2 separate regions of the Homo sapiens genome follow, and region 1 is linked to region 2. The links are contacts of gene promoters, found by promoter capture Hi-C in blood cells and fetal thymus (Javierre and others, 2016). All regions are on one chromosome and are shown on one strand. The core of a region is centred on a gene start or on the middle of the fragment in contact, and the rest is flanking DNA. Distances in the headings are between cores, read along the strand shown.

Region 1 (4,657 bases), core at 1,679-4,178, about 16 Mb after region 2:
TAGAGTCTGTTAAATAGATTTACCACACCATGTGCCTTAAACTACATCCAATTTAGAAATCTCAAAGTTGAATGGGTGACGGTTTCAGTGGTGTATCTGGCTTATTCTCATTAGCAATCATCTCAGAACCACAGAAACCAAGAGAATTGTAAGGAATCATAGAAGTTATGTCATTCACATCACCGACTTCAAGCCTTAATTGCATTCATCAATTGAGCTATGCACAAACTTAAAACAGCAAAAATGGAAAAAAAAAAAACTGCATGGACTTCTGGTTAACAGACAGCCTGCAAATGCAATGTGTTTTATTTTTAAAAATCAAACCAATAGTAAACAAGATAGACACTGGCCCTGTGGAGACTCCTTAATTAGATGTAGCCAAAGACAGCTTGACCTAGAAACCTAACTCCAGGCCTACTTTTATTTTGGCTGTTTTTTTCTGTTGTTCATATTTGGTGTTTGTTTTATTTTTGTTTGTTTTCTAAGAGCTGCTCATGAAGAAATCAGACAGTTTCCATGATATCTTTATAAATGAGTTGAAAAGCCATGTGATATTCCCCCCTCTGGAAGTCAGTTGGTTGCACACCATTGGATTAAAGGTTTCTTTTTTATCTTTCTCTCTGCCCACTCTCCTCCCTCCCCGCAATACCAACACCCTGATCTTCCTCACTTAAAAATATTTTGAAGAAAAGACTCTTGATCTTTCTGTGGAGTTCATCTATCTCTTTTTTTCTAAGCAACCATTCCACTTCTCATTCCTAAAGAAAAGATGCCAATTCCCTCCAAAAGACAATCACTTGGTTTAAATAGATACCATTGTCAACCCCAAATGACTTTCATGGGTCTCAAGGCAAGAGCCAGAGTAATTCACTTAGAACATGAAGAACTTTCCCTGCCTGATAAGAATGATATCTTGAAAGGATTTTCTGTTCTGATTTGAATTATTCAAAGAGCAGATTGTACTTTCAGTGTACATATGCATACACACACACACACACACACATGAACTTGAAAGAAAAAATGGAGAACAAAAACGTCTGCACAACTGGCTGCAAAGCAAACTGGAAGGTATATGAAAAGGTATCAACATTTCACATTGCAGTCTAACTGCAGTTTAAACTTTCGAATTATTCAGATGGGGAAACGCCTGATCCTTTTAACCTACTCAGATTCTTTGATGTAAACAATCAAGATGTATTTCAGCTAGGAGGTGAGCCTAATGCTTAACTTACATAATGTTCCTTGTGGTTTTGTTTCTTTTTACTCTCCCCATTCAGGCTTTCCAAAATGAACTCATTACAGTATCTAATACCTCCTCAAATATCTGCACTCTTTTATCCCTATGTTTGTGGCTACATCCTTTCCTTCTTACATCAATGTTATGTATTATTTCATCATTGGTGGGAGGTATGCAAGTTATTTCATCAGTAGCAGTAAGTTTACCATTTTTCCTAGCTTCCCTCTCACCACCAGCATCCCCAAATCAACTGAGGTCCATTTGTGGGATGCAGTACAGCCTCACCGCCTGAGGTTACACCCTGCTCCTACTTTGTACTAGCTACTGGGCAAGTGATTTCACTCTCTGCACCTCAGTTTCTTCACCTGCATCTGACGCACAGGGTTTCTGAGATACATGGCTCTGGACCTGGCTTACAAGTACTTAATGTGTCCATCTTATTATTTTTAGCAACCAGTTAGAAAAGAGTCTGTGGACCAGTTTTTCCTTGCTGTACAGCTAATTCTGAAAAGGGGAACTGGGCCTAATCCTTGGCTCTATGAGCACCCACACAGCCATGTGAGTCAACAGAACTCCAAGAAGAAACTAGAGTTCTCACATCCAAATGCTTCTCACTCCGCCAGTACTCCTGAGGATCTTATCAACAGGAAACAAAAGCACTATACCACTATAATGAAGTGTCTGACTTTTATTTTCTCATTAGAAAAGCCCAAAGATTGTAGCCCAGGGAACAGCTAAATATTTAGAATGTTAAAAAAGTTATTAAGACCCAGCCACCCACCCCCACCTACCTCTGTTACCCTGTTATTTACCATGTTCCTGAACATTTCAGGAGAAAAAACTCCTGATAGCCAAATCTGCAGCAATAGTGATGTACGTGCACCCGTTGAAACCTCCCACTCTTCAAATGCAGTCTGACCATTTTGGGGAAAAAATAGGAACTGTTGTGTTTACAGATAAATGCTGCTCTCAGCTCATATTCCACCACGGGCCCCAAAACAACAGGGACCTGCCAGATTCCTTGACACTCAGGTGGCTTGAGTCAAGGGCTGGATGCTACCACCTTAAGCTTCAATAACTCACTTCCCTTTTTAAAGTTCTAATTCTTTCAACTTGCAGCAACCACTTTCATTTCTTGCAATCCAACCTACTCTGATTAAGCACACGTTCAAAATTAGAAAAGAGTGACTATTTCTTGAAGGAGAGAGGCAGTTAATACTGCTTACACATTTTGGCATATGAAATGCACTGTATCCTTCAGAATTTAAATCATCAGCATGCTTTTCAGACCGGCAATGGGCCGCCGTTTTATTGCTCCATTTAATGGCCTTTTCCCCTCCTCTCTCATAAACTTTCAGGCTCCTTCAATTCTCAGCTACTTCCAAGAAACGGACTGTCCACTGGACCTCTGCTCCCAAAAGCCCTCACCAAAGGCAGAGGCAAATTTTGAAGACTGAGCCACGGAGTTTCTTTTTCTTTCTTACTCCCCACCTCCTTGGCGGTTTAGATAGAACTTAAAATAGGCTTAGGACAAAAACTCATTATTGACTACAGCACTCAGGCTTCCACACTCACCTGACCTGGGTCAGGCACTCTGTTGCCAAAGCAAGCCCAGCGAGGGGTGCAAATCCTGCTCCTCTGTAGTCAGCTCCTAAATATTTAGAAAGAAAGAAGACTGAGTACCAGACCGCGGAAGATGAGCTCTAACAGAAATGCTCCAAATTACAAGTTTCCACCTTCTTTAGCCTCCTTCACTGGGGACAGCCCCCCCGCCCCCAAACTTGGTAGGCAGGTTGGTGGGATCGCTTGGGCGAAGATTCCAGGTAACTACGCTTACTTATTTCCAGGATGTAACTGACAATTGAGACTAGGCACGCACAAACTTCGAACGTGCGGGAGGCTGGAACTAAGGGAAGTGTTTGGCAGATCCCAAAGCACTTGTTTCCCGGCGAGAAGGCCAAGTATCCGAAGCCCGCATCCTCATTGGACATGAGCTTCGTCCACACTTCATCCCTCACCGCTTCTCCGGTTTTCTTCCGTTTTTAAAAACCCTCCCCACGGGGGGCCCCTACACATGCATTATTCTCCCAACCACGGAGCGCAAGAGAGGGATACATTTTTAGAAAGATTATTTCCTTGAGCAGACTCACATATGACACCCCCACAACCTCTCTTCAAAAAAAAAAAAAAAAAAAGAACTATTTCCTGCAGCTGCAGCAACAGTTTCCAACTTGGGGGAATGCCACATCAGACCAGAATGGGGAGCCCCCAAAGCCACGCACTAGAGTAGAGGATATTTGTTTTTTAAGCTTCAAATGAGCTCCCCCCAAAACAACTGCCCGCAGTAAAGGAACCCCCAAATGCATGCCAAGTGCATGCACATCCATCAAGATCTCCCCGAGAGCGGGGCAAAAACTTCTGCGCCCGGGGAGCCAGTGCCAACTCCCCGCGCCCTCTGCCCGGCCCCAGCCGCTACCTTGGTGCCCGGGGAGCCACGCCGGTTTGGGGGAGCAGGGCGAGGAGAGGGGTTAGCAGCCGCTGGGTAATCCCATGTCCGCGAAGAGGGAGCTCGTTCCGTTAGGATGGAAGCGGAACACCCACACCTCCTCTCGGCGTGCGCTTTCTCTCTCTCCACCCCCTGCCTCCTCCTCCACCACCACCTCCTCCTCCTCCTCTCCTCCCACCCCAGCGAGCTTGAGGAAACGCTTCAGCAGCACATCCACATGGTTACTGCACTTTAAAGCGGCTCCGGGTGGCTTATATAGGCCGGGAAGCTCCCTGGGCAATGTAGTCCAAGTAGCGGGTCGTGGCGGCGCCTGAGGCTGCGGGGAGGGACTACAAGTCCCAGAATCCCCTGGGCGCCCGGGCTGGGCCCTAAATAGACGCGTGCGGGGACAGGGGAGGGGCGTCCTGCGAGGCTTTCAGGCTGCTGAGCCTGTTCCTTGGCTGGGGTCGGTAGGGCTTGGAGCCAGCCGTTCAAAGTCACCCCTGGGAAGCGCCCGCAACCCTTGGGGACGCCTCTCCTCCGGCTGCCCCCCTTCCCTGGAATCCAGGTGTCACTGGGGCCGGGGAGGGGCTAGGAGCTCGGATTTCTGCTTTGGGAAGTTTTTACAAGCCCACCCTCCCCCTGCCTTGGTTCCCCGAGCCAAGAATTTCAGAAATCCGGGGCACAAAAACGCCAGTGTTTGCGGTCAAGGATTAAAGGCGCGAGGTGTCTTTATTTAATCTGCTCCGCCCTGCTCGGGTTTGCACGAGAAACCAAGCCTGGGAGCGACGGTCCACGCAAGCGGAGACACAGGCAAGTCGCGTGAGAGCACTTTTCTGAGCCCGAGTTGCTTGTCTTTTATCGCCCGTGAGGAGGTAAAGAAAGGCAGACCTCTCCGGTGCACAAATAAAGGAGCCGTGTTGTGACTTGCCGGC
Region 2 (4,484 bases), core at 1,923-4,422:
TCAGTTGGCCCACCTCCAAGCTTCCACAACTGCTTTCAGTTTCTCCACTACAAGAAGCTTCACCCCACCCCACTCTGCCCTGCCAAGAGTTCTTAGCAGCCACTGACACTTCCTCCAGGAAGCCAATCCCACCCTACCAGTGCCCCAGTCTATGAACTGTCCTGCTCTGGGTCCGCAACTACTCCAAGAAAGTAGTTTTTCTGAACTTCTCTGTAATTTTGGTTCACTGCCCTCATCCCTAGGCCCCCAACACATGCATACACACACATGCACTTGTGCACACACACAATAAGTAACTCCTGAAGGACAAATTCTGTGTGTCATAGGCCCAGCACCTAGCCCAATGCCTGACACCCAGTTGGTAACCCTCTAAATATTTACTGAATGAATGGATACATAAAAATGAACACTTTCAGCCAGGCATGGTGGCCCATGCCTATAATCTCAGCACTTTGGGAAGCAAGGCGGGCAAATTGCTTGGGCTCAGGAGTTTGAGAACAGCCTGGGCAACAAGGTGAAACCCTATCTCTACAAAGAATACAAATAATAATAATAATAGTGTACTGGCGCATGCCTGTAGTCCCAGCTACTCAAGAGGCTGATGTAGGAGGATCACCTGAGCCCAGGGAGGTTGAGTCTGCAGTGAGCTACGATCATGCCACTGCACTCCAGCCTACGTGGCAGAGTGAGACCCTGTCTCAAAAAAAAAAAAAGACGTTAAAATAAATTTTCTCTTTCTCTTGTTGGGTCATGAAAGTGACCAGGAAACACTCAAATCCCACTTGGAAGTGGTGCTACATCTCACCCATGGAAATTTGAAAAGATCAAAAATATCAATGCAGGCCACATATGCTCATGGTTTTAGACAAAACCAAAACTTCAGGAAAGTTTTCAGATATTAAAGCTACAGCAGGCAGCAGGAAGTCTTTAAGAGGTGCTGGTGATGAGAACCCAATAAATAAATTTTAAAATAAAGCCAGAACAGAAACACTGAGTTGAGACAGTTCCTGCATGAGCCCACTTTGGCTGCGAAACGCCAAGGCCACCAAGTAATTGACCTTGCTCTTTTTTTTCATAGGTTTTTGTGGAACAGGTGGTGTTTGATTACATAAGTTCTTTAATGGTGATTTGTGAGATTTTGGTGTAGTCATCACCCAAGCAGTATGCCCTGTACCCATGACCTTGTTCTTAATTCTGTACATAGCTCGCCCTTCTGCCTACTACAGTCGGTGTCCTGTTCTCATTCGTCTAATGCCCTTCATGATCAACTCCTGGGCTTGCACCTTTCTTAGAAGCACACTCCCCACTTCATCTTTTTTGCATTCCTTCTTCAGAAATAACCACATAGCATTATTATTTGTTTCTGTCTTTTCTGCTAAAATCAAAGGGGACAAATAATATATTGTCCAGGTCTGAATTGGAATGTGGTCTGTGGACTAGCATAGCATCACTTGGGAGTTTGTCAGAAATGCAAACTCTCAGCTTCCACCTCAGACCACCTGATTCATAATCAGCATTTTAACCAGCTTCCCCAGGAGATTCCCATGCACATTAAAGTTTGAGGAGCACTGGGCTAGATCCTACATTCACTCAACAAATATTTATTGAACCAGTGTAGGATACAGAGGTGCTTAACATAAACCTGAGCATATGGTGTGGAAAAAGAGCAAGCATAGACATTCCATTGTGACTGAGAAGCTCCTGCAAGTACCAAGAAGAGTATAACCTAGATGTTCTAGTAGAATAAATTATAGTTATGTCAAAATTCAGAAGTGGTCACTGCAGCTTGGTTGTGACAATCGGGAATCTGGAATCTGGGAACTTGACCCTCTTTACAGCAGGCAGGAAGAATACAGGGAGGTGTGAGTGTGTGTGAGTGTGTCTCTTCCCTGCCTCAGCCACAGGCCGCAGGAGCTGACAAGGCCAAGTCCCCGCCCCCCTCAGCTGTCACCCTGTCAAAACAAAGCCGCTGCTGACAGCGCAGGGCCAGCCTGCCCCGCGGCCTCGGGCAATCCTCCCACCTCGGGAACACAGCCTCCACATCTGGATCTGCAGCTGGAGGTGACAGGGTGCCTAAACTGGCATGGAGAGTGGGTAGCAAGAAATGGGTGTCCTCAAACTGAGCAGTAGCGCCCGCCGCGCTGGGCTGTCACTTTGCCAAATCCTGTTTACACCTCGAGCAGCTGGGACAGCGTTTTAACTAAACAAGTAATAATACAATAATGACAGGGCTGTCACCGCGCGCGGCAGTGCCTCCGCCCCCAGCCGAGGGCGCCAGGCACCACAAGACCCTCGCCTCGGACTCTGCCCACCTTCCCACCCCGCGCTTTCCTCCCCTTCGCTTTCCCAAAGCGCCAGGAGTCCGGGAGTCTTCTCCACCCCCACTCCTTGCACCCAGTTCCTCCCAGTGGGACACAGGAAGGGATCGATTGCAGAAGGGACCACTCAGTCCCCCAAAAGATTTTTCCTTGCCCCTGGGTCACCCGCCACATGGAGAGCACCGCTCCACTCCCGGGAAAGTGACTCCAGCGAGCTCCTACAGAGCAACAAAACCCCAAGGTAGCCCGGGAGCTCGGATGCCGAAGCTACTCCTTTCAAGCGGAAGGAATGAAGGGCTCTCCGTCTTAGTGATCCCCCTTCTTCAAACCCAGCAGGACTCTTATCCAAGAAGAAGCTAATTGGGCGCGGGCGACAAGAGCACTTCCGCGGTGCAGCGGCCCCAGGCGGGAGGCGAGAGGCAGGAGGCGGGAGGCGGAGGTGGAAGCGGGAGGGGGAGGGGGGTCCCGCGGGCTGGGCCCCTAGCACCCATCCGCGGTCCGAGAGCGGCGAGCGCGTACCTTGCAGGCGGAGTACACTCCGAGTTTCTCCAGTTTCTTGGCCCGCGGAGCGGAGCGTAGTTGCGCTTTCTTCACGGCGATTCGGGCCGAGCCACCGCCTCCCGGTCCTTCGGCCGTGCCCGCTGCAGCCACTGCCGTCGCCGGACCGCAGGCGCCCGAGCCCCCGGCGGCAGCGGCGCAGGGGGAGCCCTGCGGGGGCGCGGGCGGAAGCGCCGCAGGCTGCGGGGGCAGCGCCCCGGGCCCGGCCCCTGCCCCGGCTCCTGCCCCGCAGCCGCCCGGCCCGGCCCCGCCAGCCTCGGACATGCCGCCCCGGAGCACGGCAGGAGGCGCCGAGTGTCAGGCGCCGCCGCCGCCGCCAGGGTCTCCCTCTCGGGCTCTGGTAGTCGGGAGAGCGAGACCCTCCCCCCACGCCCTCCCGCCCCCTTCGCCCACCCCCCTCCCCGCCCCCGCCCTCCCCCTAGCGCGCCGCTCGCCCGGCTCGCTCTGGCCGGGCCCCGCGCGCTGATGGTGGTGGCGGCGGCGGCAGCGGCGGCAGCTGCTCCCCCAGGAGGGAGGGGACTAGCGGCTCCGCTGCCGCTGCCGCCGCCGCCACAGCACACGCCCTCCCTTGGTTCTCCTGCCCGGGACTCTGCTCCGCGCCCTGGCTGCGGACATGTTCCTCGGGACTGCGGACTAGGTGTGCGTGCCGGCGGCTGCCAGCCTCACGGTGTCTGCCAGCGCTGGGAGGCCCCCCACGGCCTCTTTTCCGCTGCCCGCGGGGTTTGCACCCCCCACCCCAGTGCTTCGACACCTACCGCTCGCCCGCCAGGGGGCGAGGCCAATCCCTGGGTGTGGGTGAGGGTGGGGACGAGGGTGGGGGTAGGGGCCTGGAGCCCAGGCACCTGCTGGCCACCTCCCCCCTCCGCGGCCCCCCATCCGACCCCCGCACGCCTGCACCAGTGGGAGGGGGCAGCCTCTCAATCATTTGTCCTTTCACTCTCTTCCACCCTGTCTCTGACAGAGAGACAACTTCCTCCACCCTAGCGGGAGCCAGAGGAAAAAAAATATATTTTTGAAAAGTACCCGTCCATGCTAATCTTTTTCTTTGTTGCTAATTCACCAAAATAAAGACGTGATGTTCTCCCTTTCTCTTTTTAAATACTTTCTGTCAAACTATTTTTTAATATAATTAACACTTTCTTCCCATAGCAATTTCTGGGTCAAATCTGCCGGAGGAGGGGAAAAAAACTTACTATTCTCTGTAATTTTTGTTTGAAAGTGCTGGTTGCTAAAAGAAAGATTGTCTAAAAAGCATTGTCAAAAACTATGCAGTGGAAAAAGTTTGAATACAAAAAGTTTGTTAACAGGATTCGTTTCTGGGTGGTGGTTCTATAACGTTACGTAGTTTTCAAAATTGTGCCACCGCGTGCGTATTAACCAGGAAAAAGATATAAGCATAATTCAAAAGAATAAATATCGATTTTGGCCTCAAACTTTAAAAAGAAAAAAAAAACCCTCAACTCAGTGTTTCCAACTCTTGTTGAAAACTGTTGTTTTCACTGTTGATGACTGTGGAGCATACAAGTCAGTGCTGCGTTTGAAAGTGGTGTACCGTTGATCGCCTTCTTAAGCAGGTTTTAAAAGCCCAGGGCTTTTTCTCAGGACCCT

Evidence for each region. The method cuts DNA at HindIII sites, captures the fragments that hold promoters and counts their contacts. A CHiCAGO score of 5 or more calls a contact.
Region 1: a fragment that was not itself captured here is called in contact with the fragment with the promoter of KAT2B in region 2 in 1 of 17 cell types (total CD4 T cells); the score reaches 5.2 in total CD4 T cells.

What each region holds. Positions count from the first base shown.
Region 1 is chr3:4,492,662-4,497,318 of GRCh38, reverse strand. It overlaps ITPR1 (inositol 1,4,5-trisphosphate receptor type 1), which reads right to left and starts at 3,971. Exons shown (of 62, transcript NM_001378452.1): 1 at 3,714-3,971; 2 at 2,813-2,888. It overlaps ITPR1-DT (ITPR1 divergent transcript), which reads left to right and starts at 4,156. Exons shown (of 2, transcript NR_108075.1): 1 at 4,156-4,535. RefSeq lists silencers at 2,040-2,334, 3,633-3,902. The HindIII fragment of the contact is 1,240 bases long and covers 2,309-3,548 here.
Region 2 is chr3:20,039,134-20,043,617 of GRCh38, reverse strand. It overlaps KAT2B (lysine acetyltransferase 2B), which reads right to left and starts at 3,172. Exons shown (of 18, transcript NM_003884.5): 1 at 2,838-3,172. The coding sequence starts at 3,140. RefSeq lists enhancers at 1-59, 140-309, 1,671-1,860, 2,577-3,547 and silencers at 2,711-2,770, 2,971-3,100, 3,271-3,910. The HindIII fragment of the contact is 5,734 bases long and covers 60-4,484 here.